Linked DNA regions of Homo sapiens: all the other regions are linked to region 1. Evidence: promoter capture Hi-C in 16 types of primary human blood cells and fetal thymus (Javierre and others, 2016). All regions are on one chromosome and are shown on one strand. Each heading gives the region's core, a stretch centred on a gene start or on the middle of the fragment in contact. The rest is flanking DNA. Distances are from core to core; before and after follow the strand shown. Region 1 holds the start of MAFK (MAF bZIP transcription factor K). Region 2 overlaps CHST12 (carbohydrate sulfotransferase 12). Region 3 overlaps EIF3B (eukaryotic translation initiation factor 3 subunit B). Region 4 holds the start of EIF3B (eukaryotic translation initiation factor 3 subunit B). Region 5 holds the start of SNX8 (sorting nexin 8). Region 6 overlaps MAD1L1 (mitotic arrest deficient 1 like 1). Region 7 overlaps MAD1L1 (mitotic arrest deficient 1 like 1).

Region 1 (4,345 bases), core at 636-3,135:
TGGCTCCCGGGTTTACCAGCACCTGGGGAGTCGACGCTGCGGGCAACCAGCCCCTCAAAGCCCTGGCTCGGTTCAAGGATAAAAGGCAGGAGAAGCCTGGTTTTTCTGCTTTAATAAATGTCTTATTTTGGAATAATGAGAGGTCTAGTTTTAAAAGCAGACTCCCTCTCCCAAGGTCAAACTCAGACATTCCTACTGGGTTACCTAAGAAAGGGAGATGTTCTCATAAATGGCACTGGACGCCCAAATAGGGTGTAGGTGTGTCCCAGACACCTGCACAGCCCACCTATGTTCTCCAGACCCCGCCCACGGCTCTTTTAATGCTCCATGTCCCTGAAGACATTGGGTTTGGAGAAGCTGCATAGGGCACCCCACTCTGTGTTGGAGAACCCCTTACAACAACACACCGTGACGGTGAAACCTCAGTGCCAGTAAAGAGACCTGGCAGCCCACCCTGGAGAATCAGAGGGGTGGGAAGGGCGCTGCCAGAGCCGAACCACACAGATATCCCCTAGACCACGATGGGGGGCGGTGGGGGGCGTTTTGAGTCTCAGGATCTTCCCAAGGCCAGGCACCTGGCCAGAGATTGGCTGGCTGCCTGTGGGTCACCTGGTGAATGAATGGTGAGTGGATCTAATTTCTGCCTCAGCTACAAGAGCTACTTAAGAAGCAAGAAAACAGCATGCTCAGGGACGCAGGACACCAGGAGAGGGACACGGGAGGCCCCGCGAACACGGACACACACGGTGTGAGCGCGAGAATGCAGTGCAGGGCCACTGCTGTGTCCCAGGCGGACCCAGGTCAAGGGCCAAGGCCAGGCGGGGTCCTGGCTTTCTGGGTTTCTCGGTGGCGCCTGGTCCCACCCCCCAGGATCTAGAGGCTGTGCAGACGCAGACACACACAGTCACGGGCACATACACAGTTTCCTGAACTTGACAGAGGCACAGAAGAACTCACGCAGTGGGAGCGGGAAGAGGCCGGAGCCCCTGCCCCACACGTGAGCAAAGGGACGAGCCTTGGGGCCACTGTCACCTGCCCCCCTCCCGCCTCCCCACGGCCTTCCTTCCAGCAACCCTGGCAGGTGGGCGGCTGAGAGCGACACCAGTCCCAGGATCCCGCCTGTGGGGAGACCCGGTTACCCCCACCCCGTTCCCGGGCACGCGTGACCCCAGCCACTGGGCCAGAGCGCCGCCCGTCACCGGGAGGAAGCGCGGGGGGCAGTCCGGGGCCGCACGCGGAAGCCACGCTGGGGCGGAAGCCGCGGAGAATCCACGCGCCCGCGCCCTCCCCGCACCGCCCGCACGTGGCGCCCGCCCCGCCCCGCCCCCCGCAGGTGTGAAGGCGCGGGCCCGATGCGCGCCGCCGACCCGCGTGGATCCTCGTCCTCCCAGGTCTGGGGTCCGCGCCCTGGGGCCCCCGGCGCGGCAAGCATGGCCCGGGCGGCACGTGCAGGGGAGAGAGCCTCGCGTCCCGGGGAAGCCCCCGGGCCTGCGGGGCGGGGCCCACCTGGGCAGGTGCCCGGGCCGCGCCGCGGGCCGCATGAGGGTCTCGGGCCCCGCGCACCCAACCCCGCCACCCTCGGCCCGCGCCCCCAGGCGGCCGTGACTCAGCGGCCAGGTAGCCCCGGCCCCGCGCCCCGGTCCCCGTCCCCGCCGCGGCCCGGGCCCCGCTGCCCCACCGCCCCTCACCTGGCGTCGCGCGGAGGGCGCGGGCGCGCGGCGGCTCCTCGCGGGCACGCGCTGTCCTCGCGCCGGCGCTCACTGTCGCGCTCCCCTCGGCCGCCGCCGCCGCCTGGCGCTCGGGCTCCGACTTCGCGAAGAACAACAAGTGCCCCCGCGCCGCCCGCCGCCACCGCACCCGCCCGCCCGGCTCCCCAGCATCTGACACCGCTTCCGGGATCCGCGGCGCGCGCGTCACACCGCCCTGCCCCCCGGGCCACGCCCCCTCCCCGCCCCGCGGCCACGCCCCCCGGCCACGCCCTCCTCTCCCGCCCGGGGGGCCGCTGGCCCCGCGCGCACCTGCAATCCCCGCGCTTTGGGAGGCCCTGCGGGAAGATCTCTGGAGGCCGGGAGTTCAAGACCAGCCTGGGCAACATAGCGAAACCTCCCTTCCCCCATTCTCTGTCTCTATAAACATAAAAAACATTAAGGCCAGCTGGGAACGGTGGCTCATGCCTGTAATCCCAGCACTTTGGGAGGCCAAAGCAGGAGGATCGCTTGAGCCCAGGAGTTCCAGACCAGCCTGGACAACACAGTGAGACCCCCATCTCTACAAAAAAATTACAAAAATTAGTCGGGCGTGGTGGTATGTGCCTGCGGCCCCAGATATTCAGGAGGCTGAGGCAGGAGGATGGCTTGAACCTGGAAGGTGGAGGCTGCCATGATTTCATCACTGCACTCTAGCCTGGGTGACAAGGTGAGACCCTGTCTCAAAAAAACAAAACAAGCAAACCAGCAATGTAAAAATGGGGATAAGCGGCTAGTGATCACAGCCTCTGTGGGTGGGGCCAGCCCCCTTCTAAAGCCCCAGCTGGTGGTTGCCAGGGGACACAGCAGGCCCAGGATGGGGTTAGGGCACCACTGGCCCAAGGAGTCCTGTGAGGGATCCTCAGGTGGGGGCGGGCCCCTGAGGGAGCTGCCTCTGCTTCCTGTCACAGGTGGAGGACAGGCTGGAGAGGGGATCCGTCTGGAGCCCCTTGCCACGCTTCTGGGTCCCCAAGTCCCGCCCCCCTCTGAGCGCTGCAGGAAGAGGAGTTTCAGGCCTGGGCAACCGAGGGCCCCCCAGGACACCCATGGCATCTGCCCGGGGTTCTGGGAAGCCTGTTTTCTCAGCTCAGGTGGGACCCGGGAGCCTGTTTTCTCGGCTCAGGTGGGACTCAGGAGCCAGTGCAGGGAGGTCTGTGCATCTTCTGGGTGTCGTCCTTACCACCATGTGGCTGGGGATTTAGGCAGCAGCCCAGTGGCCTCTTGCTGTGGAGCGCGGGGGCAGCCTCCCGGGCCATCTCTCCCCCCCACTTGCGGGTTCTGCACTGGCCACCTGGGAGGCCCCTCCTTGCTAAGGCCCACACGGCCGTCTGGGGCAGCTAGCCACAGTGATGCCTGCAACCTGGCCGCAGAAACAGGTGCCAAGAAATAACTCAACAGCAGCAGTAGCGACAATGTCCCACGTCCCCAGGATGTTTGCAGAAAGACATCCCCCGGGGATGGGAAAGGTGCTTCCCTTGTCCTGGCCCACACTCTGCACTCGGGGTCCTGGGATGCGCTGGGAGCCTCCAGAGAAGCTGTGGCCATCTCCGCGGGACTCTTTACGTTACTCATGGTGTCGCTCCTCTAACCCAAATGCATTCTTTCCATAGCAGGCTTTTGTTACTAATCACACACTTTTATTATCTCTTTAATTTTTTAATTTGTATTTATTTATTTCTGAGATGGAGTCTCACTCTGTCGTCCAGGCTGGAGTGCAGTGGCACCATCTCGGCTCACTGCAGCCTCCGCCTCCCAGGTTCAAGTGATTCTCCTGCCTCAGCCCCCTCGAGTAGCTGGGATCACAGGTGCCCACCACCACGTCTGGTTAAATTTTGTTTTTGTTCTTGTTGCTGTTTTGAGATGGAGTCTCACTCTGTTGCCAGGCTGGAGTGCAGTAGCACGATCTCGGATCACTGCAAGCTCCGCCTCCCAGATTTAAACAATTCTTCTGCCTCAGCCTCCTGAGTAGCTGGGACTACAGATGCCTGCCACCACGCCCGGCTAATTTTTTTTTTTTTTGTATTTTTAGTAGAGACGGGTTTCACCATGTTAGCCAGGATGGTCTCAATCTCTTGACCTTGTGATCTGCCTGCCTCGGCCTCCCAAAGTGCTGGGATTACAGGCGTGCGCCACCACACCGGCTGATTTTTGTATTTTTCGTAGAGACGGTTTCACCATGTTGGCCAGGCTGGTCTCGAACCCCTGACCTCAGGTGATCCACCCGCCCTGGCCTCCCAAAGTGCTGGGATTACAGGCGTGAGCCACTGCATCCAGCCTAATTTTTAAAATTTTGAATTATTTATTTATGTTTGTTTTATGAGACAACATCTCACTGTCGCCCAAACTGGAGTTCACTGGTGCAATCACAGTTCCCTGTAGCCTCCACCTCCCAGGTTCAAGTGATCCTCCCACCTCAGCCTCCTAAGTAGCTGGGACCAAGGGCTGGTGCTACCACGCTTGGCTAATTTTCTTTGTTTTTTTTTGTAGAGACAGGATCTTGCTCTGTTGCCTAGGCTGGTCTTGAACTCCTGGGCTCAAGTGATCCTCCCGCCTCGTCCTCTCAACGTGTTGGGATTACACGCATGAGCCACTGTGCCTAG
Region 2 (4,345 bases), core at 1,045-3,544, 890 kb before region 1:
CTCAGCCTCCCAAAGTGCTGGAATGACAGGCGTGAGCCACTGCAGCCTATTTTTAAAACTAGATCCTAAGTACCTGTGCTGTTCAAGTTTTCAGGACCACCCCTCTCGAGGATGTGTAACAATCAACAGTTTCTTCAGATGACAGTGAATGAAACCACACTAAAAAAAAAAAAAAAAAGGTTTTCTGAAGGCTAAGAAAGCAGCAAAGCAGGGCTGCACGCAGTGGCTCTCTCCTGTAATCCCAGCACTTTGGGAAGCCGAGGCAGGTGGATCACAAAGTCAAGAGATCGAGACCAGTCTGGCCAACACGGTGAAACCCTGTCTCTACTAAAAATACAAAAATTAGCTGGGTGTGGTGGTGTGTGCCTGTAGTCCCAGCTACTGGGGAGGCTGAGGCAGGAGAATCGCTTGAACCCGGGAGTCGCAGTTTGCAGTGAGCTGAGATCGCACCACTGCACTCCAGCCTGGTGACGGAACAAGACTCCATCTAAAAAAAAAGAGGCAGGGCGCAGTGGCTCACGCCTGTAATCCCAGAACCTTGGGAGGCCGAGGCGGGTGGATCACCTGAGGTCAGGAGTTCGAGACCAGCCTGACCAATAACGGAGAAACCCTGTCTCTACTAAAAATACAAAATAAGCCGGGCATGGTGGCACATGCCTGTAATCCCAGCTACTCGGGAGGCTGAGGCAGGAGAATCGCTTGAACCTGGGAGGCGGAGGTTGCAGTGAGCCGAGATGGCGCCACTGCACTCCAGCCTGGGCCACAAGAGGGAAACTCCCTCTCAAAAAAAAAAAAGAAAGAAAAAGAAAGTAGCAAAGGGGAAAAGTTAACATGACAAACAACTTGAGAGGGAAGTTGCCAATTAAGATGAAGACTAACGAGGAGAGTGAAGCTGCAGGGGAGTCAGTCACATCGCCGACATAGGCAGACGCCAGAGGCCAGGGATGCTGCCGCCGTCCACGAATTCTGTACCTAAGAACTAGATAAGGGCGTTACTGAGCCAACCTAAGCACTTCTGCTTATTTTTCAGCCAAGAAGCATTACATATATACAACCAATGCCAGTGACTACATCATTTTATAAAACCTATGACTTTTCATGGATAATTTAATAAGATTTCAGTTTAATTACAAGGAAAATATTTTAGGATTATAACTAAGTATTAATAATATCTTTTAGGGCCAGCTATGGTGGCTCATGCCTGTAATCCCAGCACTTTGGGAGGCTGAGGCGGGAGAACTGCCCAGGAGTTTAAGACCAGCCTGGGCAACATAGCAAGACCCTATCTCTATAAAAAATGTTTAAAAAGGCTGGGCGCAGTAGCTCATGCCTGTAATCCTGGCACTTTGGGAGGCTGAGGTGGGCAGATCACTTGAGCTCAGGAGTTTGAGGACAGCCTGGCCAACATGGCAAAACCCTGTCTCTACTAAAAATAAAAAAATTAGCCTGGCATGGTGGTGTACACTTGTAATCCCAGTTTCTTGAGAGGCTGAGATGGAAGGACCATTTGAACCTGGCAGGTGGAAGTTGCAGTGAGCCAAGATCGCGTCACCGCACTCTAGCCTGGGCAACAGAGCGAGACTCCGTCTCAAAAAAAAAAAAAAAAGTAAAAAAAAAAACCAAACTAAAAAACTAGCCAGGCATGGTAGTGTGTGCCTGTAGTCTCAGCTACTTAGGAGGCTGAGGTGAGAGGATTGCTTGAGCCCAAGAGTTTGAGGCTGCAGTGAGCTATGATGTTGCCACTGCATCCCAGCCTGGGCAACATACCAAGACCCTTCTCTACAAAAAAAATGTAAAAAAAAAAAAAAAAAAAAAAAGAATTAGCAGGACATGGTGGTGTGCACTTACAGTCCCAGCTACTCAGGAGGCTGAGGCAAGAGGATCGCTTGAGCCCAGGAGATGGAGGTTGCAGTGAGCTGTGATGGCACCACTGCACTCCAGCCTGGGGAACAGAGTGAGACTCTGTCTCAAAAAAAAAAATTAACACAGAATTATCATATAAAATTACCATATGAGGGGCCAGGTGCAGTGACTCACGCCTGTAATCCCAGCTACTCAAGGAGGCTGAGGCAGAATTGCTTGAACCCAGGAGGCAGAGGTTGCAGTGAGCTGAGATTGTACCACTGTATTCCAGACTTGGTGACACAGTGAGACTCCGTCTTAAAAAATAATAATAAAATAAAATTGCCATATGATACAGCAATTCCACTTCTGTGTATACACCCAAAATAACTGAAAGCAAGGTTGTTGTTCTTTTCCTGAGACAGGGTCTCACTGTGTTGTCCAGGCTGGGGTGCAGTGGTGCCATCAAACCTCACTGCAGCCTTGAACTCCTGGGCTCAAGCAGCCTCCTGAGTAGCTGAGACTATAGGTGGTTGCCACCATGCCCAGCTAATTTTTTGTAGAGATGGCATCTTGCTATGTTGTCAGGGTGGTCTTGAATTCCTGGCCTCAAGTGATCCTTCCACCTTGGCCCCCCAAAGTGCTGGGATGACAGGCATGAGCCACTGCACTCAACTTAGAGCAGGGTCTTGAAGAGATGCTTGCACACCCATGTCCACACTGATGTCAGCATCATTCACAATAGCCAAAAGGTGGAAGGAACCCAAGTGTTCGCGACAGATGAACAGACAAGCAAACTGTGGTCAACCCATGTAGTAGAATATTACTCAGCCTTCAAAAGAAAGGAAATTCTGACACATGCTACAACATGGATGAACCCTGAAGACATTATGCTCAGTGAAATAAGCCAGAAACAAAAGGACAAATACTTGGCCGGTGTGGCGGCTCACACCTGTAATCCCAGCACTTTGGGAAGCCGAGGCGGGCAGATCACGAGGTCAGGAGATCAAGACCATCCTGGCTAACACGGTGAAACCCCGTCTCTACTAAAAATACAAAAAATTAGCCGGGCATGCTGACGGGCGCCTGTAGTCTCAGCTACTCTGGAGGCTGAGGCAGGAGAATGGCATGAACCCGGGAGGCAGAGCTTACAGTGAGGTGAGATCGTGCCACTGCACTCCAGCCTGGGCAACAGAGCGAGACTCCATCTCAAAAAAAAAAAAAAAAAAAAAAAGACAAATATTTCAAGATTCTACTTGTATGAGGTTCCCAGGGCAGTTAAATTCCTAGAGACAGAAAGTAGAATGGTGGTTGTGGGGGCAGGGGAGGGGGATGGGAGTTTGTGTTCAATGGGGACAGAGCTTTAGTTTTACAAGATGAACATAGTTCTGGGGCTGGAGGGTGGTGATTGCTGCAGAGTGATGTGAACGTGCTTAACACCACCAAACTGCATGCTTAAAAATGGTTACAATGGTAATTTTTTTTTTTTTTTTTTGAGACGGAGTTTTGCTCTTGTTGCCTAGGCTTGAGTGCAGTTGCACAATCTCAGCTCACTGCAACCTCTGCTTCCCGGGTTCAAGCGATTCTCCTGCCTCAGCCTCCTAAGTAGCTGGGATTACAGGCTCCCACCACCATGCCTGGCTAATTTTTGTATTTTTAGTAGAGACGGGGCTTCACCATGTTGGCCAGGCTGGTCTCGGACTCCTGACCTCAGGGAATCCACCTGCCTTGGCCTCTCAAAGTGCTGGGATTACAGGCGTAAGCCACTATGCCCAGCCATTTTTTTTTTTTTTTTTTTTTTGGAGACAGGGTTCCACTCTATCATTCAGACTTGAGTGCAGTGGCGTGATCTTGGCTCACTGCAACCTCCCCACTCAAGTGATCCTCCCACCTCAGCCTCCTGAGTAGCTGGGTTACAGGTGTGCACCACCACGCCTGGCTAATTTTTGTATTTTTAGTAGAGATGGGGTTTCACCATGTTGACCAGGATGGTCTTGAACTCCTGGGCTCAAGTGATCTACCTGCCTCGGCCTCCCAAAGTGATGGGAATACAGGCATGAGCCACCACGCCCAGCCAAGTTTTAATTTTAAAAGGCGGTTTGGACAGCCAGACATGGTGGTTCATGCCTGTGATCCCAGCAATTTGGGAAGCCAAGGCAGGGGGATTGCTTGAGCCAAGGGGTTCAAGACCAGCCTGGTCCACACAGTGAGACCTCATGTCTACAAATAATTTTTAAAATTAGCTGGGCATGATGGCACACACCTGTGGTCCCAGTTACTCTGGAGGCTGAAGTGGGAAAATGGCTTGAACCCAGGAGGTCAAGGCTGCAGTAAGCTATGATTGTGCCGTTGTACTCCAGCCTGGGTGACAGGGTGAGACCACATCCCAAAAAACAAAACAACAACAACAGCAACAGAAACAACAGCTTGGACATACAAGAATGTCTGGCCCAGTGACTGACACAGCTCCGGCCTGAAGCCCACGTGACTTTTGCTACCTTCT
Region 3 (4,345 bases), core at 620-3,119, 840 kb before region 1:
ATTGCCCATATGTTTCTATCAACCAGAATTAATGAAACAGCCAATCTTGTAATCCACTGCCAACTGAGGGCACCACGCACCCTGCCAAGCTCTAGCAAAGTGAAAACTAAACTCCTCACAGAATCATGCTGCGAAAGGTGCGGCCAGGAGATTCCAACCCCTTCCTGGTACAGAGCCAAACCCATGGCTCTGCAGGAGGGCAGCTGGCAGCCAGAGTCCTGTGTGAGGAACACAGCCCATCGCCACCTCCTGGCTACCACACACACACACCCCACGCCTATGAAGCAACAAGCAATGGCTCATTCAATCCCCGCGGGCACCGGGCTCTGTGCTGAGCAGAGACCCCAGGATGAAGTGAGGAGCTGAGGGCACAGGCAGCAGGTGCCGTGAGACAGGCGAGGGCCCACGCACCACTGTGAGGAGCGAGCCCCAGGTGGGTGCAGTGTGGCACCCCTGGAACCGGGTGCACGGGGGCAGAGTACAGCTGTGTGCAACAGCTCTGCGCACCCTGGTCAAAGGCACCTGACCCAGACTGGGGACTGGCAGGAGTATGTCCACAGGAAGTGACCCCAAGCCCAGGGACAGCAGCTACAGCCAGAAGAGAAAAAGCTTCACTTGAGATGATGGCAGAGAATGGAAGCCTTGGAAATACTCGCTTAAACGTGAGGGCTCAACGGGGCTCAGAGAGACACCCTGCAAGGAGGCGGCACCTCCAGGCCATCGCTCACTTCCATCAGCCGAGGCCACACCCCATTCATAGGCGAGTCCCGGCCTGCCCAGCAGTGGTCCTAGGCCAGTCAAATGCTCACTGTTGGGCAGCGACTGGGTCATCATCTGTGCTGACCTACTCAGAAGAGGAAAGGGACCAGGTTACTTACTGATGAGTTCAATCTTCCCGTTGTTTTTGACGTGGTAGAAAGACACAGATATCCGCGGAGCCTCTCCGTGCAGCACAGCAAACTTACTTCCATTTGGTTCCCAGGCAAAGGCTATGATGGTTTCTAAAATGCACAAAACAGACCCCTCCCTTTTTGGTCAATTCAGAACATAGTGCTCTTGATCAGTTAAAATGTTCACTATTCAACCACAGAGAAATATCCCCCGACGTGTAAAAGTTCATTAAAAGGACGGGAGAGCAAGCAACAGCAGGAAAGGTGCACATTCCTGGAGTTTCAGAGACAGCTGCTTCCACTTGTGTGGAGTGACCTACGTGAAACTGCTCCCTTCCTGAGAGCAGGACACCCACAGCAGGACCGCAGGAGCCCGACATTGTCAGCAGCTGTGGATGCCGCTTCCCTCGCACCCAGTGTGCACCTACAGTGGGATCCTGACCTCCGGTCTCCCTGCCTGGAAGGGCGGCCATGTTTCCCATTTTCTCACCTATTTTTAACCCTTCCTTCCTCCTTTTCTCCATGGCAAAACAAAAAGCCAAACAAGAACACAGGCTCAATCTCTTTTCTCTTTTTTTTAGACAGGGTCTTGCTCCGTCACCCAGGCTGGAGTGCAGGGGCGCAATCTCAGTTCACTGCAACCTCTGCTCCTGGGCTCAAGTGATCCTCCCGCTTCAGCGTCTCAAACAGCTGGGACTATCGGTGCGCACCACCACACCTGGCTAATTTTTTTTATTTGTTTTTTGTACAGAGAGGGTCTCACTATGTTGCCCAGGCTCTAAACACGTTCTGTGACCTGGAGATGACTATTCATGGTGAGGGCTCACAGTCCTGACTCAGCTGCTCAGACAACCCCTCGCATGGAAGTGTTAAAGCCAAGAGTAAAACAGCACGTAGGCCCCATTCGCCTCAAAGTGACTAAAATACAACTTGCCTTTCATCTCGACCACATCCACAGGTACCTGTTTCTCCCTCATTCGGAAAATTTCAAAATTTGTGACAACACCCTGTTTAAAAAAAAGGGGGAAGGGGTGACATTCTGGACAGTGAAAATATGAGAAAAGGTTTAAATCAAAGATCAACGTCACAATGAAAGATTCAGTGTGCATGCCTGGTTCACACACGAGCATGTGCAGTGATGAAAGCCACAGCCCTCAGGATGGAAGACGGTTCTAAGGCTGGAGAACTGCCGGCACCACGTCTACTGGAAGCCACTGGACATGCATGAAGTAACTCTGACCCAGATCCCACCTCCAGGAGCCGCCCTGCCCGCCACACTTGGGCACAAGCAGTCCCAGGGTCCACACTGCAGGCTGCAGGCCAGGGTCCTGAGGGCCCTAAAGGCACACCAATGGGGCTGGGTAAACCACTTCAGACAGTGGGGTGTCCTGTAGCCATAACCTTCAAGAAGTCCTGCCCTACTCGAGGAGTCTGAGGGAAAACTGCCCTGATGTCCATCAACAGAGGAAGGAGGCCAAGAAACGGGGTCCACCCAACAAGAGATTACTGCTGACACTCAGCACCGTGGACCAGCTGTGGGAACGCTGTGCTCCGTGAAGGAGGTCAAACACAGAAGGTGGCATAGTATCCGATTCCAGCTGTGTGTTCAGAATAGGGAAATCATAGACATTCGTGATGCCAGGAGCTGGGCGGAGAGGCTGCTAACAGGTATGTTGTTTCTTTGTAGGGTGACAAAAACATTTATTTATTTATTTATTTTTGAGACGGAGTCTCACTCTGTTGCCCAGGCTGGAGTGCAGTGGTGCAATCTCGGCTCACTGCAAGCTCCGCCTCCCGGGTTCACGCCATTCTCCTGCCTCAGCCTCCCGAGTAGCTGGGACTACAGGCACCCGCCACCACGCCTGGCTAATTTTTTGCATTTTTAGTAGAGACGGGGTTTCTACTAAACCCTCGATCTCCTGACCTTGTGATGCCCCGCCTCAGCCTCCCAAAGTGCTGGGATTACAGGCGTGAGCCACCGTGCCCGGCCTTTTTCCTATCTTTTAAAAATTATCTGTGGAGATGGGGTCTCACTGTGTTTCCCAGGCTGGTCTGAAACTCCTAGCCTCAAGCTATCCTCCCTCCCACCCCGGGGGAGCCACCGCACCCAGCCGATGAAAACGTTCTGAAATGAGTGGTGGTGGCTGCATAACTCTGAACACACGAAAAACCACTGAACCAGTTCACCACTCTAAAGGGGTGTTTTCAGGCATGTGAACTACATGTCAATTAAAGCTTTCTTAACATAAAAGAAAGAAGAATACTTCTATTAGAGGGAAAACTCAGGAATTTCTTTTTTTTTGTGAGACGCAGTCTGGCTCTGTCGCCAGGCTGGGGTGCAGTGGCGCAATCTCGCTCTGTTCACTGCAAGCTCTGCCTCCTGGGTTCAAGCGATTCTCCTGCCTCAGCCTCCCGAGTAGCTGGGACTACAGGAGCCTCCCACCACGCCCAGCTAATTATTGTACTTTTAGTAGAGATGGGGTTTCACACCACGTTGGCCAGAATGGTCTCAATCTCTTGACCTCATGATCCGCCCACCTCGGCCTCCCAAAGTGCTGGGATTACAGGCATGGGCCACTACACCCAGCCAACTCAGGCAATTTTTTGATAAAATAAATATTAAATGATCAACCACCAAAAATAAAAAAATAAAAAAATAAATCTTGAGTATACTACTCCTTGTGCTTAGAAAGAAAATAATATTCTCAGCCAGGCACGGTGGCTCACGCCTGTAATCCCAGCCCTTTGGGTGGCCAAGGCGGGCAGATCACCTAAGGTCAGGAGTTCAAGACCAGCCTGGCCAACATGGTGAAACCCTGTCTCTAATAAAAATACAAAAATTAGCCAAGCGTGGTGGTGGACGCCTATAGTCCCAGCTACTTGGGAAGCTGAGGCAGAAGAATCATTTGAAACCAGGAGGCAGAGACTGCAGTGAGCCGAAATCGCACTCCTGCACTACAGCCTGGTGACAGAGTGAGACTCCATCTCAAAAAAAAAAAAAAAAAAAAAAAAAAAAAATCCATTAACACCCTCCAAACAATACGGTGGCCACTTCAGAGCTCAGGATAAGGAATCGTCAGTTCCTGTGGGAATCTACATACCTGGGTGCCTTTCGGAGTCCTATCTACTTTCACACACAAGTAGTCTCCGTTCTTCTGCCAATGGAGCTTGCAGTCCACCACATTGAACAGGTTCCTCACTCGGATCTCTTGCCTGGTAGGGAGCTGCATCAGGGTTACCCTGGCTGGAATATCTTTGTCTTCAGGCACCCAGAAGGCGATTATGTTACCACCAGGAGACCAAGAAAAGTCTCTGCAGAACAGGAAAATAAAATGTTAAAGCAAAGACCAAGTGATGACGAAACTGAAAAGCAGAAGAGAATAGAACAACTCATTTGCTATATAGAAGCTCAATGCTGTCACAGCTGACGCTGAGCGCTCCCTCTGCACAGCCAC
Region 4 (4,345 bases), core at 770-3,269, 820 kb before region 1:
TAGTAATGGTCACAGTAACTGACAGCGTTTTTATTTTTTAATTTTTCACTTTTTGAGACAGGGTCTCACTCTGTCGCCCAGGCAGTGGTGGGATCTAGGCTCACTGCAACCTCCACCTCCTGGGTTAAAGTGATTCTCGTGCCTCAGCCTCCCAAGTACCTGAGACTACAGGTGTGCACCAGCACACCTGGCTGACTTGTATTTCTGATAACCTTTTTTTCTTTTTCTTTTTTTTTTTTTTTTGAGACGGAGTCTTGCTCTGTCGCCCAGGATGGAGTGCAGTGGCAGGATCTCGGCTCACTGCAAGCTCCGCCTCCCAGGTTCACACCATTCTCCTGCCTCAGCCTCCAGAGTAGCTGGGAAATCCAGGTGCCCGCCACCACGCCCGGCTAATTTTTTTTTATTTTTAGTAGAGACGGGGTTTCACCGTGTTAGCCAGGATGGTGACCTCGTGATCCACCCGTCTCGGCCTCCCAAAGTGCTGGGATTACAGGCGTGAGCCACCCAGCCCGGCCCTCTGATAGCCTTTTAAAAATACGTTTAAATCATAAATTGGCAACTCCATGTTATTCCCGAAATTGTCCTGGTGTATCGCTGGCTACATCAGCAAGGGTATTTTTATTTTTCTCACTCTAGTATCAACTTAGCCAATCTGCAGAGGCTGATGTGTTCCCAACTTAAAGGCTTAAGAGAGCTAAAAAACAAAAGAAAAACAAATGAGACCAGCTCTCATCAGAAGTAGCTTCAGGAAAAAATCTCTGAGACAGGAAGCAAAAATATGCCTGTAAATCCAATCAAGGTTGAGATGAAGGCAAAGCTGGCTGTTATCGGCAATATTAAAACCTGGAAAAATAACTCTCTTTATAGATTTAGCGCAAGAGATAAAGAAAAATCAAACTGGAATTTCACAGGGTGCCTGTCCCACTAAGGAAGTCTCTGGAGATGGACAATTCTGAGGGGCAGGAGGACAAAATCACCGGCTCTGCCACAAGCTGTTCCTCCGATCCAGACCTTGGGAGGTCTGACTGGTCAGCTCTGGGGACACGTAGACCCGCAAACCTGCCACCGGGTCTTCGGTTTTTGCCGTACCCCCAGCTGCTACACTCACAGCACACCCAGCCATAACGGAGTACCCCATGTGCCCTCTCCCACCCTCTCAGATTTCTGGTTGTCATGCAAATGCCTGGCTCCCGAAGTGAGCTCCACCCTGTCCCCTTTTTCAGGAAAGAAAAGGGGAGGCGCTGGGCTCTCAGAACACTTCCAGGGCACTCGGGAACCCCTCCCTCGGTGGCTTCTCAGGAACACACGGACACCCTCGCTGGAACTTCTGCACGAACCGGTGGCACAGCCCGACGATATCTCCCACCTCGGGAACCCCAGCCACGCTCCCGCGCCGCTCGCCAGCCCCGCCCCGGGCGCCCTCACCTTCCTCGCTCACGTCGTCCACGAAGTCCTCGGGGTCGCTGAAGGAGGGCTCGTCCGCGTCGCCGTTCTCCAGCGCCCGGGGTTCGGCCTCGGCCGCTCTGCCCTCGTTTCCTCCCGCGTCCTCGGACACCGCCTGGGCCCGGCTGTCGGAGCGCTCGTCCCGAGCCTGCTCTCCTGGGGCCTCGCCCTGTGCCGGGACAGGGGGCTCAGCATGCGACCCGGGCAGCTCCTCGGCGGCCGGCGGCGAGGGCGACTCGGACGGGCCGGAGGCCGCCTCTGCCTCGGCCGCCGGCTCGGTCCTCACCTCGGACTCCGGCCCGGCCTCCGCGATCCCCACCTCCTCACTGGAGGCCTCGGTCCCCGCGGCCTCCGGAGCGCCGGGCCCCGCGGGCCGCAGCAGCCCCTCGGCTGGCGGCGGCTCGGCGGCCGGCTGCTGCTGGCCGGGCTCGGCGCGCTCCTCGGCCGCCTCGGGCACCGCCACGTTCTCCGCGTCCTGCATGGGCCCAACGCTGCCTACTCGCAGGGCTCCGCGGCCGCCGCGCTTCCGACTCTCCCAGGCCGCACCGCGCGCCGCGACGGCTACAGCCCAGCCATGTGCGTGCGACGGGGAGGCCGCACCAAGGCCGCGGGGCGGGGGGCGCACCCACGCCCTGGGGCCTCACGAACGACCCTGAGAGGACTCGCATCCACAAGACCGCGCCCGAAAATCATCAAACTGATATATTTGTGACAAGAAAGTGCTTAATTCCATTCAGCAAGGTTGTTTCTGTGCATCAGTAAACTCATGGGAGCATTGACCACCCCATGTGTGGCAGCAGATGGTTCCGTCCAACATGGCGTCCTCCCCCTTTCCTTTCCCGTCGGACGCTGCGGGGCGGGACTGAACTATTTGTGGAGCTGAAGGCGGGGACAAGAAATGATTTTAGTACCCGGAATGCTAGGAAAATGTCCTCTAACTCAACAGTTAATACCCTGGAAGAGTGGAGACTCAACAGGCGATTGCTCAGGGCGTCTGAGCCTTTCGCTAGGGAAACCGTTTAGTTTACGTTACTAAAGTCCCCCCTGTCCGTGTCTGTCACTTGGACTCGCCTACTGACTGAGCAAAAGGACAGACTACTTCAAAATAGAAAAGGAATTCGGGGCGAGCCAGAGAGGGCCCACACGACTAGAAGGACGACTGCCTGGCGCGATACAAAAATGTATGGAAGTTTCTTTAATCGCTTACCCCCAGTCCTTCCCTAGCGGCCGTCACTGCCTGTTTCCCCCCATTCGGGCTTTCACAGTGGTTCAGTCCATCCGAGGCCGCCGCCTTCAGCGCGGGACAGCGCGGGTCACGTGGGGGCGGGGGCGGGTCCTCGCCGCGTGGAGCTCGAGGCTGACTCCGGAGGGACCGGAGCGGTTCGCTCTGCGCGGGTGCTCACGGGACGGGCATTGGGTGCATGTGGCTTCTATCTTGTTTTTTGCCGGAGTGGAGGACAACCACTGGTTGGGGGATGTCTTAATCATCCTAGAAAACAACCCAGTGGATCACGCCTGTTATCCCAGCACTTTGGGAGGCTGAGGTGGGAAGATCGCTTGAGCTTAGGAGTTGGAGACCAGCCTTGCCAACATAGCACCACCACCCCCCGCACGCCAGCCCTCATCTCTACGAAAATTAAATAAATAAATAAAACAGGTGGTACCCAGAGGCTGGGGTGGAGAGTGGGGAGTGTTTATCGGGGACGGACCTTCAATTTGGGAGGATGAGAACGTTTTGGAGATGACGGTGGTGATGGTACAACATGGTGAATGTACTTGATGCCACTGAACTGTATACTAAACTTCATATTAAAATGGCTAGGCCCTGCGCGGTGGCTCACACCTCTCTTCCCAGTACTTTGGGAGGCCAAGACAGGAGGATCACTTGAGCCCAAGAGTTCAAGACCAGTCAGGGCAACATAGCGAGACCCTGTCTTCGAAAAAATAAAATAAAATGCCAAAAAGGTAAATTTTATGTATATTTCATCCTATAGTTTTTTTGTTTTGTTTGTTTTCAGAGATAGGGTCTCGCTCTGTTGCCCAGGCTAGAGTGCGGTGGCATAATCACAGCGCCGCTGCAATCGGGACCTTCCAGCCTCAAGAGAATCCTCCCACCTCAGCCTCCCAAAGTGCCAGGATTACAAGCGTGAACCACCGCGCAGGGCCTAGCCATTTTAATATGCAATTTAGTGTACAGTTCAGTGACATTAAGTACATTGCCAAGTACTTGGGACTGAAGGTATGTGCCACCGTGCCCAGCTAATTTCTTTATTTGTAGATAGCATCTCACTGTGTTGCCCAGGCTGGTCTCAAACTCCTGGCCTCAAGCAGTCTTCCTCCCTCAGCTTCCCAAAGTGCCGGGACTATAGGCATGAGCCACCACACCCATCCCATCCTAACGGTGTTTAAAAGAGCGAAAAAGAAGCAGAGTCTTCCCATGCCTAGTACCAGGTTTGACTACTCCTCATCATGCTGTCAGTGGTGTATCTTTGGGCAGGTCACTTAATGCCTCCACCTCAGTTTCCGCATCTGTACAATAAGGGATGACAATTTTTTTTTTTTTTATTTAGACGGAGTGTTGCTCTGTCGCCTAGGCTGGAGTGCAGTGGCACGATCTCGGCTCACTGCAAGCTCCACCTCCCGGGTTCACGCCATTCTCTTGCCTCAGCCTCCCAAGTAGCTGGGAATACAGGTGCCCGCCACCACGCCTGGCTGATTTTTTTTGTATTTTTTTAGTAGAGACGAGGTTTCACCGTATTAGCCAGGATGGTCTCGATCTCCTGACCTTGTGATCCGCCTGCCTCGGCCTCCCAAAGTGCTGGGATTACAGGTGTGAGCCAATACGCCTGGGAGTATGTTTTTTCTACATATGCATGCTTACAATAGGGCACAGTAAGAGATT
Region 5 (4,345 bases), core at 544-3,043, 780 kb before region 1:
CACCCATCCAGGGATCCCTTCACCCATGTAGGGAAGGGATCGCCCTTCACCCTTCACCCTCTTCTGCGGTGTGTTGCACAGCCTTGCTCCCGTTTTGGAACAGTTAGCACACTTGCTCCACTCTGGCCATCTGTGCCTCCTCCAGATCAAGGAATGCACAGGAAACATCTTTGTATTCTCAGCACCCAGCACAGGGCTTCCTGACCTCCTGGTGGCAGCCAGCAAACCTGAGTGGGCCAGTGGGTGGGTGGATAGATGCAGGATGCAGTGAGTGAGTGAGTGAGTGGGTGGGTGGATGAATGCAGGATGCAGTGAGTGAGTGGGTGGGTGAATGAATGAATGCAGGATGCAGTGAGTGAGTGAGTGGTTGCATGAATGAATGCATGATGCAGTGACTCAGTGAGTGGGTGAATGAATGAATGCAGGATGCAGTGAGTGAGTGGTTGTGTGAATGAATGCAGGATGCAGTGCGTGAGTGAGTGGGTGAATGAATGAATGAATGCAGGATGCAGTGAGTGAGTGGTTGTGTGAATGAATGCAGGATGCAGTGCGTGAGTGAGTGAGTGGGTGAATGAATGAATGCAGGATGCAGTGAGTGAGTGAGTGGGTGAATGAATGCAGGATGCAGTGAGTAAGTGGGTGAATGAATGCAGGATGCAGTGAGTGAGTGGTTGCGTGAATGAATGCAGGATGCAGTGCATGAGTGAGTGAGTGAGTGAATGAATGAATGCAGGATGCAGTGAGTGGGTGGGTGAATGAATGCAGGATGCAGTGAGTGAGTGAGTGAGTGGTTGTGTGAATGAATTCAGGATGCAGAGTGAGTGAGTGGGTGAATGAATGAATGCAGGATGCAGTGAGTGAGTGGGTGGGTGAGTGAATGCAGGATGCAGTGAGTGAGTGGGTGAATGAATGCAGGGTGCAGTGAGTGAGTGGTTGCGTGAATGAAAGCAGGATGCAGTGAGTGAGTGAGTGGGTGAATGAATGCAGGATGAAGTGCATGAGTGAGTGGGTGGGTAGATGAATGAATGCAGGATGCAGTGAGTGGGTGAGTGAGTGGGTGAATGAATGCAGGATGCAGTGAGTGTGGGTGAATGAATGTATGAAGAAGCAGTGAGTGAGTGAGTGGATGAATGAATGCAGGATGCAGTGAGTGAGTGAGTGGGTGGATGAATGAATGCAGGATGCAGTTAGTGAGTGAGTGAATGAATGCAGGATGCAGTTAGTGAGTGAGTGAATGAATGCAGGATGCAGTAAGTGAGTGAGTGGGTGAATGAATGAATGCAGGATGCAGTGAGTGAATGAATGAATGTAGGATGCAGTAAGTGAGTGAGTGGGTGAATGAATGAATGCAGGATGCAGTGAGTGAGTGACTGAATGAATGCAGAATGCAGTGAGTGGGTTGGTGAATGAATGAATGCAGGATGCAGTGCGTGAGTGGGTGAATGAATGTACGAAGAAGCAGTAAGTGAGTGAGTGAGTGAATGGATGAATGAATGCAGGATGCAGTGCATGAGTGAGTGGGTGGATGAATGAATGCAGGATGCAGTGAGTGAGTGGGTGAATGAACGTATGAAGAAGCAGTAAGTGAGTGAGTGAGTGAATGGATGAATGAATGCAGGATGCAGTGCATGAGTGAGTGGGTGGATGAATGAATGCAGGATGCAGTGAGTGAGTGGGTGAGTGGGTGAATGAATGCAGGATGCAATAAGTGAGTGAATGAGTGAATGCAGGATGCAGAGAGTGAGTGGGTGAGTGGGTGAATGAATGAATGCAGGATGCAGTGAGTGAGTGGGTGAGTGGGTGAATGAATGCAGGATGCAGTGCGTGAGTGGGTGAATGAATGAATGCAGGATGCAGTGAGTGAGTGGGTGAATGAATGAATGCAGGATGCAGTGAGTGAGTGGCTGGATGAATGAATGCAGGATGCAGTGAGTGAGTGGCTGGATGAATGCAGGATGCGGTGAGTGTGTGAGTGGATGAATGAATGTAGGATGCAGTGAGTGAGTGGGTGAATGAATGAATGCAGGATGCAGTGAGTGAGTGGGTGAATGAATGAATGCAGGATGCAGTGAGTGAGTGGGTGAATGATTGCAGGATGCAGTGAGTGAGTGAGTGGCTGGATGAATGCAGGATGCGGTGAGTGAGTGTGTGAGTGGATGAATGAATGTAGGATGCAGTGAGTGAGTGGGTGAATGAATGAATGCAGGATGCAGTGCGTGGGTGAGCGAATGAGTGGGTGAGTGGATGAATGAGGAAGTGCGAGTCAGAAAACCCCAGTGTAACCGGTGAATGAGCGAACAAGGGCGTGACTGGGCGAGGAGAGATGGGAGTGAATGAGGGTGCGGTGGGTGCAGGCTTGCGCCTGAGGTAGTGCACCTGCGAGTCCGGAGGTCCAACCTGAGGGGAGGTAACCTGCGCCACCAGCAGGCTCCGTGTCCACGTGGACGGGGAGGGGCATGTGGGCGTGGCTAGGCGGGTTGTAGGCGTGGCGAGGCCGGGCGAGGAGCGCGGCGGGCCCGCAGGGGCGGACTGTGGGCGTGGCGCGCGGGGGAGGGGGCGTGACCAGGCGGGGTGTGGGCGGGGCGAGGGCGCGGCGCGGCAGGGCTGCGCGGCCGGGTGGCGCGGGAGGAAGTCACGTGGGAGCGCGGGCTCACATGACTGGCCGCGCGATGGACCCGCTGCCCGCGGCTGCAGTCGGGGCGGCAGCTGAGGCGGAGGCTGACGAGGAGGCGGATCCCCCGGCGTCAGGTAGGGCGTGGGGCGGCGGTAGCCCCCACCTGCCCAGGGCGCGCGGCCCGACCACCCCCGGCGGACGGGGCTCAGCCGCCGCGCTTGGTCCCCGACTCGTTTCCTGCCCCCGCGCCCCGCGTTCGGCCCCACGCCCCAGTCCCTCGGAGGTCCCCCTGCCCTCCTGCGCGCCTGTCCTTTGGGGGTCCCCGTGCTCTCTCGCGCCTCCGTCCCTCGGGGTCCCCTGCCCTCCTGCGCCGGGAGAGCCCTGTCCAGGTTACAGCTGGCCGCGTTCCGAGGCGCTTTCCCGGGGCTCTCAGAGGCGTCCTCGGGGACAGTTTCCTCCTCGCCCCGTTCCTGGTGCCCTGCTCTTCTGCCCTGCCTGGTCACGCTGAGCGATGGCACTGGGGGCCACTTCCCCGGACTTGGGCGCCTTTCCTAGCCACATCCTCTCTCCCAAGCTCCTGTCGGTTGTGTGGTCTTGGGCCAGTAATTTCACCTCTCGGGACCTCTGTTTTCTCATCTGTGAACCGAATCTATAGATGTGTAGCTGCTTTTCTCTCTCTTTCAAGTGATCCTCCGCCTTAGCCTCCCAAAGTGCTGGGACTACGGGCGCGTGCAGTTACGCCCGGTAATTTTTTTTATTTTTGTAGAGATGGGATCTTGCTATGTTGTCCAGGCTGGTCTGGAGCTTCTGGCCTCAAGCGGTCCTCCTGCCTTGGCCTCCCAAAGTGCTGGGAGTACGGGCATGAGCCATCGTGCCTGGCCTGTATTTCTGTCTTTTTCTTTTTTCTTTTTCTTTTCTTTTCTTTTTTTTTTTTTTTTGAGACAGATTCTCACTGTCACTCAGGCTGGAGTGCAATGGTGCGATCTCGGCTCATTGCAACCTCCGCCTCCCGGGTTCAAGCGATTCTCCTGCCTCAGCCTCCTGAGTAGCTGGGATTACAGGCATCCACCATGACACTCGGCTAAATTTTGTATTTTTAGTAGAGACGGAGTTTCACCATGTTGGCCAGGCTGGTCTCGAACTCCTGACCTCAGGTGATCCAACCACCTCAGCTTCCCAGAGTGCTGGGATTACAGGCGTGAGCCACCGCGCCTGGCCTCTTGTATTTCTCTTTAAGGGATTTGGGTTAATGAGGCTAAACATGGCTGGGCACGGTGGCTCACGCTTGTAATCTCAGCACTTTGGGAGGCCGAGGCGGGCGGATCACGAGGTCAGGAGATCAAGACCATCCTGGCTAACACGGTGAAACCCTGTCTCTACTAAAAATACAAAAAAAATTAGCCAGGCGCGGTGGCGGGCGCCTGTAGTCCCAGCTACTCGGGAGGCTGAGGCAGGAGAATGGCGTGAACCCGGGAGGCAGAGCTTGTAGTGAGCCGAGATAGCGCCACTGCACTCCAGCCTGGGCGACAGAGCGAGACTCCGCCTCAAAAAAAACAAAACAAAACAAAACAAACGAGGCTAAACATTAGAAGGAATACAGGAGGGTGCCCCTTATTTCTGGATGTTCCTTCCTGTGGTCCTAGCTGCCAGAGAAGAGATGTAGGTGGGTGTTGGTGTGAGTTACGGTTTCTTCTTGGTGGGGGGGGACAAGATTGGGGAATCCCCTTGTGG
Region 6 (4,345 bases), core at 583-3,082, 670 kb before region 1:
GGCCAATTTCAAGACACGTTGTAAATTGCATAAATTGAGACACTGTGGTATTAAGTATAGACATGTAAATCAGGAGAACAGAGTAGAATGTTCAGAAATGATTGAAGAATACAGTGTTGATTGTTGTCAAAGTGTCCAGATAATTCAGTGGGAGAAAGAATCTTTTCACCGAGGGTGGTAAACCAGTAGGCTCTTCGTGGTGAGGATGAGCCTTAACACCTGTCTCATGCTGGACACAAGATTTAACTCAAATGACGCATAGACCTATGTGTAAAAGTCACAAAATCTGGAAGCTAGGGTTTGGCAAAGAGGTCTTACAATACAACGAACATGAACCATAAATGAAAAAATTGATAAATTAGACTTCATCAAAATTGAAAACTTCTGCTCTCAAAAGATACAGTGAAAAGGCAGACCATAGACTAGGAAAATATTTGCGAGATATTAACATGTATCTGACCAAAGATGTGCTCCAGGATAGAGAAGGAACTCTTACAAATTAGTAAGATTACCATAGTTTAAAAAATGGTCAAAAGACTTTTAACAGATACTTTATTATTTATTTATTTTTTTGGAGATGGAATCTTGCTCTGTCGCCCAGGCTGGAGTATAGTGGCATGATCTTGGCTCACTGCAACCTCCGCCTCCCAGGTTCAAGCAATCCTCCAGCCTCAGCCTCCTGAGTAGCTGGGGTTCCAGGCGTGCACCACCACACCCGGCTAATTTTTGTATTTTAATAGAGACAGGTTTCACCATGTTGGCCAGGCTAGTCTCAAACTCCTGACCTCAGGTGATCTGCCTGCCTTGGCCTCCCAAAGCACTGGGATTACAGGTGTGAGCCACTGTACCCGGCCTGCTTTTAACAGATACTTTACAAGAGAAGATATATAGGTGGTAAATAAGGACATGAAAAGATGGTCAACATTGTTAGTTATTAGGGGAATGCAAATTAAGACTGTAATCGCCCAACAGGGTTCTTCTTGCTGCCCAGAAAGCCAATGCACTGAGAACGGCAGGTGTGGCAGCAGAGAGGGAGTTTAATGATTGCAGAGCCAGCCGAGGGAGGTGGACGCGAGATAACTCTCACATCTGTCTCCCTGAGAATTAGGAGGCGAGGGCTTGAGGGTGTTTTGGCGGGCAGCGGCCTAGGGAGTGGTGAATGCTGGTTGGTTGTGTTGGGGATGCAATGATAGGGGTGTCAGGACTGTCTCCGTGCAGCTGAGTCAGTTCCTGGGAGATGGGGTCACAAGTCCAGGTGGCATCTCTTGATCTGCTGAAATGCTAAATCTGAAAAATATCCCAAAGACCAGTTTTTTAGGTTTCACAGCAGTGATGTCTGTAGGAGCCGTTAGGGAAGTTCCGAATCTGACAACGTCTGGTTACGTGACTCCGGGTAGCAGGCACTGTAGAAGAGCAAGCTAAGTAAGCAGTGACAGGTCATGGTTTACCCGTGCCTGTTCTTTAGCAAAGTTCAGGCCCCTGTAGCAATGCCAGTCTTAATCTCCAAACAAGGACGGGTGTCATTTTTCCTTGCCTTGAAGTTTAACTATAAACTACATTCCTCTCATAGTTATCTTGGCCTCTGTATTAGAATAAGCAAAAAAAAAAAAAAAAAAAAAAAGAAAAGATCCTGTGAGGTTAGAAGCAAGGTGGAGTCAGTAATGTAGATTTCTCTCGTTACTTAAAATTCTGTAAAGGCGGTTTCAAGACTGCAGTGAGATACCACTGGGCACCCAATAAAATGGCTAAAATTAAGCAGACTGACCATCCTGACTGCTGGCAGAGATGCAGAGCAGCCAGGCCTGTTGCCCCTGGGAGTAGCAAGTGGTACGGCCACTTTGGAAATGGTTTGGTAGCTTTGTACACACTTACGGTGTGACCCTGCAGTTCCATTCCTCGGTATTTAATCTAAGAGAAACCCAAGAGAAAATGTGGTCTCATGAAGACTTGTACAGGAATGTTTGTAGAGCCTTATTCTAACAGTCTGAGAGCAGGAACAACTCAGGTGCCTGTCAGCAGGTGAAGGGATACGTGGACCGTGGCGTCTCCACGCAGTGTAATGCGCGGCAGCGGCGGTGCTTGGAAACATGAAAGGGTCTCTCTTGCTGAGTGAAGGAAGCCAGACTTACTGAGTTTATACTTACTATACCATCCCATTGATTTGAACTTTTTAAAAAGGTAAAACTGAGCAACAGTGATAGAAAGCAGGTCAGTGATCCCTGGAGTCTCGTGCTGGGATATGATTGGGGTCTTATGGGGTGCTAGAAATACCCTTTGGCGTAATGGATGTGATCGCCGCACAGGTGTACACGCAGCAAAGCTCATGACACTGCTCTTGTCAAACTGTTCACGTGCGCAGATCATACCTCACTCAAGCTGGCCTGTCAACAGCAGACGGTCAGCTCTTCGGATTAGCTGTGAGGGGAAGGAAAATTCCTTAGTGGCGACTTGGACTGAATTGGAGAGTGGCCTGGGGGTGCTGTTTAAGCCAGCCTTCATTTGGGGAGGGACCCATCCCCTGAGTTTATGGAAGGCCTACGGCCACGGCTGCGTGCACCTCCTGGGTCTTTGTTACGTCACAGGAGTGCTGTGAGGAGTGGCAGCATGTGGGGTCAGTGCAGGCTGCAGAGGGTCAAGGAGTTTCACATTTGATGAAAAGCAGAACAAGCTGCATAAATGCAAATGAATGGAATGAAAAGTGGAACGTGTTCTTCCTTTCCTGCCCTCCCTGGTGACCTCACTCAGGGCTGGGTGCCCTGTGTCACAGCTTCCTAGCCATCGTCACCTTGTGTTCTCAGTATTCCTGGGGGGCTGTTCCAGAATAGAACTGATTGCCCCGGAGGTGGGCAGCAGGGCGTGCTGTGCTTGGCCCCGGTTCGTCTTTCTAGGCAATGCCTGATGAGTTTCCTGTGTGTCGTTCTGGAAATGTGTGTACATAGAAGCTCTTTATGTACTCCCATCACCTTTTAAAATTGGGGCTCCTTCCACAGTTTTATTCTGCAACTGTTTTCACTCAGTTTTTGACAGTTTTTTGGCCCCAGCGCAGGCTGGTCTGCTGAACTACTTTAAAGAACTGCAGGGTGTGCTGGAGTGCAGACGGACTCAGACTCCAGCAGCCCCTGTTGATGGACACTTAGGGTGTTTCCAGCTTCTTTCCCCAATTAGCCATGCTATGCTGGTTGGGTAAATTCTTAAAAGGATGATTTTTAGTTCAAAAGAGATGTGCGTTTGAGACTCCTAGCTGGTGCCACACCGCCCTCCCGAAAAGCATGAGTGCTGTGCGCTCCCGTCACGGCGTGTGACTGCCGTCACCTAATGGGGGTGGTGTGCTTTCAACGTTTCTAGAGAGATTCAGCTCGAAGTCACAGTACAGTGAGGAGAGCAGGCATCTTCAAAGGCTTGGCTTTTCAAAACTGTCATTTAGCAGCTCCCACTGAGGGGGACCCTATGAAATAGGAAGGGAGTGGGTGTCAAGTCCTGTAGCCGAGCCCCCACTTCAGGGAGGAAATCATTTGCTCGTGGCCAAGATGCCGCTGTTTTTGGCTCCTTGCCTGTCCCGTTGTGCCTGAATCTGGCCTTGCTTCCCATCCCGGCGGGTGGGCATTATACCCGTCAGCAAGGGCAGGCCTGAGGGGGTGAGGAGGGGCTGCAGAGGAGGCTGGGCTGGGGAGGTGGGAGGCGGGCATTGCTGGCTCAGAGTCCTGGCAGCTGTGCCCACCTGGAACTGCTGACCCATCCCCTGTAGTCAAAGCTGGGCACCTGTCAGTGCTGACCTGGACATTTTCCCAAAAACTTTTGTAGACTGGTCAGATGACAAGTCTCAGGGCCCAGCTTCCCTGATGTGTGAGGCCAATTAGGAGGACAGTGAGGGGATGCATGATTTTCCTCTAAGGAAGGGTCTAATTGACCAGCCTGGACAGTTTTATTATCCTAGTTACCGTGCGCGTGATTTGTAATTACCCGGCTGTTGAGTTGATCAATACCAGACGCCCTGGTGGTGCTTGGGAAGGTGGGCGACTGTCAGGTATGTTGGTCCATTTTAATTGGCGCCGGTTTGGTTTTCTTTGGGGCATGGGAGGAGGAGGGGGAGAAGCGTTTGGCCTTCTGGCTACTTGTGTGAGCATGGCCCTTCTTCTGGGCCTGCATGCCGGATGCCTCGTGGTCTGGGCCACGTTTCCCCTTTTCGTTTGTTCATTCGTTCACCATGAGCTGCTCTTGTGGAGCCCATGATCTGGAGGGAGAAGGATCCCTCAGGCCTGTGCGTCTGTGGTGTGCAGGTCCCAGGACCCTGGAGCTGGAGAGTGGCGAGTGTGCTGCCCTCCAGAGGTGCAGGCCAGGGTGGGGC
Region 7 (4,345 bases), core at 1,339-3,838, 660 kb before region 1:
CCGTGTGTGAGAATTCCGCTGGCCCCACATCCCGAGCTCTTTCATTGAATTCCGCTGGCCCCGCATCCCGAATGCATTCATTGGCCACCTTCACTTTAGCCATCCTGGTGGGTGTGTGCGGTATTTCCTTGTGGCCTTCATTCCTGTTGCCCTGGTGACTAATGATGTTGAACATCTACTCATGTACTTAACTTGACGGCCATATATCTTCTTTTGTGAAGTGTCTTTTCAAAGTCTTTTCCCCATTTTTTAATTGGACTGTCATCTTCTGAGTTGGCAGAGTACTATATATATTCATGACAGAGTCTTTTGTCAGATGTATGGTGAATATTTTCTCCCGGTACGTGGCTTCCTTTTCATTTTCTTAGTGTCTTTTGAAGGGTAAAAACTTTTAATTTTGCTAAGTCTGATTTATCAATTCATTTTCTTTATGGTTTGTGTTTTTTGTATCTGCCTAACCCAAGCTTTTAGAAACTTTCTAGCTTTAACTTTACTGTTAATTTTGAGTTAATTTTTGTGTGTAGTGTGGTCACAGTTGAGGGTCGCTTTCCTGCCCCACAATACGTATGTCTGTTTCCCATTTGAATTTCCTTGGCACCTCTGATGAAAGCCTGTCAGCCATACATTCATGGGCCTTTGCTCGAGGTCTTCTTTCATTGAATCATGTGTCTGTCCTTTCTCCAGTATGGTAAGGTCGTAATTACTGTCACTTCCTAATACTCTTTGAAAGAACATAGTAAGCCCTCCAGCTTTTTCTTTGTAAGAATTGTCTTGGCTATTTTAGTTTTTTTATTTTCAGATAAATTTTAGATTTAGCTTTCAGTTTGTTTTCTTTCCCCCCATTTACTTTTTATTTCGTTTATTTTTTCTTGCCTTAGTGCACTCACTGGGACCTCCAGTGCAGTTTTACCTGGGCATGGTGAGAATGGCTGTCCTGGCCTTGTCAGCCTTAGAGGGAAAGCGTTTAGATTTTCCTGAAGCATGAGGTTAGTTTTAGGGTCTTGCGAGATACTGTTCATCAGGTTGAGGAGGATGCTTTTCTTTTCCCCGATTTGTTGTATTGGGTCAAATACATATACAATAAAATTGACTGTTAACTGTTTTTAAGTGTACAGTTCAGTAGCTTTAAGAACATTCATATTGCTGTGCAACCATCACCACCATCCACCTCCAAAACTTTATCTTCCCAAAGCCAAACTCTGTACCCATTAAACGCTCGCTCCCTGTGCTCCCCCGTTGGCTCTAGGACCCACCATTCTGCTTCCTGCCTCTGTGATTTTTTACTACAGTAGGGACCTCATAGAAGGAGAATCATGAAATATTTGTCCTTATGTGACTGGCTTATTTCACTTAACATAATGTCCTCAGGGATCATCCATGTTGTGGCATGTGCCAAAATGTCCTTTCTTTCTAAGGCTGAGTAATATTCTGTTGTATGGATAGACGATCCGTTCTTCTTATCCAGTCACCTGTTGATGGACACTTAGGTTGCTTCCACATTGTAGCTACTGTGAATAATGCTGCTCTGAACACGAGCGGGCAGATATCTCTTAGAGCCCCTGCTTTCAACCTGCTGGATCCTGTGGTTCAACTTTTAACTATTTTAGGAGCCACTACATTGCTTTCCACAGTGGCTGTACCATTTTACGTTCTCATCAGCAGTGCACAGGAGTTCCAGTTTCTCCACATCATCACCATGTGATGTGATTTTTTTTTTGGTGGTAGCCATCCTAATGAGTGTGAGGTGGTGTCTTGTTCTGGCTTTGATATGCATTTCCCTAATGATTAGTGGTGTGGAGCACCGTTCCATGTGCTCCTTGGCCAGTTGTGTGTCTTCTTTGGAAAAATGTCTATGCAGGTTCTTCGCCTGTTCTTGAATCGCGTTATTTTCATTGTTGTTTTAGGAGTTCCCTTGTATGTTTTGAATATTTTTCTCTTACAGATACGGTTTCCAAACATTTTCTCCCATTCTATAGGTTGTGTTTTCAGTCTGTTGATAGTGTCCTTTGACAAATTTAAAATTTAAAAATTTACCAAGATTTCATTTGTCTATTTTTTTTTTGCTGTTATCTGTGCCTTTGATGTCATATCCAAGAAATCTGTGCCAAATCCCATGTCATAAACCTTCTCCCCTGTTTTTTTCTAAGAGTTTTATAGTTTTAGGTCTTACATTTAGGTCTTTGATTTGTTTTGGGTTAATTTTTTGTGTATGGTTTAAGGGCCCAACTTCATTCTTTTGCATGTGGAGACCAGTTTTCCAGCACCATGTGTTGAAAAGCTTGTCCATTCCTCATTGAATGGTTTTGGCACCTTTGTCAAAAATTATTTGAGCATACGAAAGTGTTTATTTCTGGGATCTCTACTGTATTTCATGGGTCCATATGCCTGTCATTCTGTCAGCACCACACTGTTTTGATTACTGTGGCTTTGTAGTAAGTTTTGACTTAAAGTGTGACTCTTTCAACTTTGTTCTAACTTTTCAAGATTGCTTTGGCGAGGGACCTTTGGGTCCCTTGAGATTCCATATGAATTTTAGGATAGATTTTCCTATGTCTGCAAAATATTTAGTTAGGTCTTGATAGGGATTGCATTGAACGTCTAGATGGCTTTGGGCGGTGTTGACATCTTAACAGCAAGTGTTCCACACGTAGTGGTTTCTGGAAGGTTAGTTGTGGTACGGAATAATCTTTTCAAACTGTCGTACTAAAATTCATTGGTCTCTTGCACTTTGAATGGACCTTTATCCATGCATGGTTATGTAACATCATACATTGCTCATTTGAAAATATCGACGCACTGAATTATGTAGGTCTTTTATTATGCCTTATTAAAGAAATTACAAGCTAATCACCACAAGTTATTGAAAAGTCTTTAAACGTTAGGAATCCATCAAGCTTGTGGTGGTAGATACAAATTTTTAAGAATTTAGATATGTGTTTGGCAGCTTGAGTTTTATTATTGTCAACAAATACTCGTGGTTGTATTCTTTCAAATGATAACGTTTATTTAATTCGTTTTTGAGAAAATGTCTACCAGATGCTCAAGCCTGAGTAACTATTGTTGGTCAGTTAGTTTTTAAGTAAAATATTTTACATAAAAAGGGCTAGTTCAGTTCACAACTCAAACATGGAAGACCAACCATCGCACTTTAGTATGCACCAGAAATGTCTTACATGTGCTTTCTATTTCTTCACACAGAATGTTGAGATCTTATCAAGGGGTTAAGATTTAATGAAGTGAATATTTTAACTGGGCCCAGTACTCCTGTAGTTCCAGCTGCTCGGAAAGTTGAGGTGGGAGGATGGCTTGGGCCCAGGAGTTTGTGGCTGTTGGGAGCTGTGATTGTGCCTGTCAGTAGCCATTGCAGTCCAGCCTGGGCAGCATAGCGAGACCCCACGTGGTGCCCCTGGTTTGTTTTGCTAACGTGTTATACCCATCAGTGCTTTTGTATCTTCAGTTCAAATGTCAGCACAGTTAGAAGAAAAAAGGCAAATAATAGCTTATTATTATTATTCCTTGTTTTTTTGGAGACAGAGTCTTGCTGTGTCACCCAGGCTTGAGTACAGTGGCATGATCTTGGTTCACTGCAACCTCAACCTTCTGGATTCAAGTGATTCTCCCACCTCAGCCTCCCCAGTAGCTGGGACCACAGGTGTACGCCACCATGCCTGGCTAATTTTTGTATTTTTTGGTAGAGATGAGGTTTTGTCATGTTGGCCAGGCTGGTCTCGAACTCCTGACCTCAAGTGATCCACTTAGTATTATTATGAAAATAGTTTTGATGGCCAGGCACAGTGACTCACGCCTGTAGTCCCAGCACTTTGGGAGGCCAAGGTGGGCAGATCACCTGAGGTTGGGAGTTCAAGATCAGCCTGGCCAACATGGCGAAACCTCGTCTCTACTAAAAATAAAAAATTCGCCGGGCGTGGTGGCGCATGCCTGTAATCCCAGCTACTGGGGAGGCTGAGGCAGGAGAATCACTTGAACCTGGTAGGTGGAGCTTGCAGTGAGCTGAGATTGTGCCACTGCACTCCAGCGTGGGGGACAGAGCGAGAGTCCGTCTCAGAGAAAAAAAAAAAAAAAGAAAAAGAAAATAGTTTTGATGTTACAAGACTGCCTAGAATGGTGTCTGCAGACCACACTTAGTGAACTGTTGTCCTAGCGCTTAGTCCCTCAAGGCGAGAAGAGGCTCACAAGTTGGACTCACATGTGATCCTACAGCTCTGTGACATGCTTTTCAAAAATATTGTACAGGATAATGTAAATCCATCCTCACTACAAAGAAAGCTCAAACAGTACAGAATTAAAGTGAAACTTTCTTGGATTTCTCTGCTTTTTCAAATTC

The links. The method cuts DNA at HindIII sites, captures the fragments that hold promoters and counts their contacts. A CHiCAGO score of 5 or more calls a contact.
Region 2: a fragment that was not itself captured here is called in contact with the fragment with the promoter of MAFK in region 1 in 2 of 17 cell types (total B cells and total CD4 T cells); the score reaches 5.5 in total B cells.
Region 3: a contact is called between a fragment that was not itself captured here and the fragment with the promoter of MAFK in region 1, in 4 of 17 cell types (activated CD4 T cells, naive CD8 T cells, total CD4 T cells and 1 more). The highest score is 6.4, in activated CD4 T cells.
Region 4: the fragment with the promoter of EIF3B here is called in contact with the fragment with the promoter of MAFK in region 1 in 11 of 17 cell types (total CD8 T cells, naive CD8 T cells, monocytes and 8 more); the score reaches 11.9 in total CD8 T cells.
Region 5: a fragment that was not itself captured here is called in contact with the fragment with the promoter of MAFK in region 1 in 1 of 17 cell types (monocytes); the score reaches 5.6 in monocytes.
Region 6: a fragment that was not itself captured here is called in contact with the fragment with the promoter of MAFK in region 1 in 1 of 17 cell types (M1 macrophages); the score reaches 5.1 in M1 macrophages.
Region 7: a fragment that was not itself captured here is called in contact with the fragment with the promoter of MAFK in region 1 in 1 of 17 cell types (fetal thymus); the score reaches 5.1 in fetal thymus.

The regions. Positions count from the first base shown.
Region 1 is chr7:1,528,242-1,532,586 of GRCh38, reverse strand. It overlaps MAFK (MAF bZIP transcription factor K), which reads right to left and starts at 1,885. Exons shown (of 3, transcript NM_002360.4): 1 at 1,689-1,885. LOC100128653 (a long non-coding RNA gene) reads left to right here. Exons shown (of 1, transcript NR_149036.1): 1 at 1-134. RefSeq lists silencers at 1,166-1,295, 1,786-2,055. The HindIII fragment of the contact is 17,285 bases long and covers 1-4,345 here.
Region 2 is chr7:2,418,700-2,423,044 of GRCh38, reverse strand. The region is part of intron 1 of CHST12 (carbohydrate sulfotransferase 12); the gene reads right to left. Among named protein-coding and RNA genes, the nearest start is that of CHST12, 17 kb to the right of the region's middle. The HindIII fragment of the contact is 7,524 bases long and covers 1-4,345 here.
Region 3 is chr7:2,369,329-2,373,673 of GRCh38, reverse strand. EIF3B (eukaryotic translation initiation factor 3 subunit B) reads right to left here. Exons shown (of 19, transcript NM_001037283.2): 10 at 3,992-4,202; 11 at 1,825-1,897; 12 at 879-1,001. Among named protein-coding and RNA genes, the nearest start is that of EIF3B, 17 kb to the right of the region's middle. The HindIII fragment of the contact is 2,516 bases long and covers 612-3,127 here.
Region 4 is chr7:2,352,501-2,356,845 of GRCh38, reverse strand. EIF3B (eukaryotic translation initiation factor 3 subunit B) reads right to left here and starts at 2,019. Exons shown (of 19, transcript NM_001037283.2): 1 at 1,426-2,019. The coding sequence starts at 1,924. It also overlaps a transcript of SNX8 not described here. RefSeq lists silencers at 1,563-1,672, 1,723-1,812, 1,993-2,132 and enhancers at 2,933-3,002, 2,673-3,228. The HindIII fragment of the contact is 9,918 bases long and covers 1-4,345 here.
Region 5 is chr7:2,312,731-2,317,075 of GRCh38, reverse strand. It overlaps SNX8 (sorting nexin 8), which reads left to right and starts at 2,635. Exons shown (of 11, transcript NM_013321.4): 1 at 2,635-2,748. The coding sequence starts at 2,655. RefSeq lists enhancers at 1,530-2,030, 2,031-2,531, 4,276-4,345 and silencers at 2,350-2,619, 2,720-2,959. The HindIII fragment of the contact is 8,361 bases long and covers 1-4,345 here.
Region 6 is chr7:2,202,361-2,206,705 of GRCh38, reverse strand. The region is part of intron 10 of MAD1L1 (mitotic arrest deficient 1 like 1); the gene reads left to right. It overlaps LOC105375126 (a long non-coding RNA gene), which reads right to left. Exons shown (of 3, transcript XR_001745062.3): 2 at 2,367-2,415; 3 at 1,506-1,582. Among named protein-coding and RNA genes, the nearest start is that of MAD1L1, 28 kb to the left of the region's middle. RefSeq lists an enhancer at 3,037-4,011. The HindIII fragment of the contact is 6,485 bases long and covers 1-4,345 here.
Region 7 is chr7:2,186,531-2,190,875 of GRCh38, reverse strand. The region is part of intron 10 of MAD1L1 (mitotic arrest deficient 1 like 1); the gene reads left to right. Among named protein-coding and RNA genes, the nearest start is that of MAD1L1, 44 kb to the left of the region's middle. The HindIII fragment of the contact is 616 bases long and covers 2,281-2,896 here.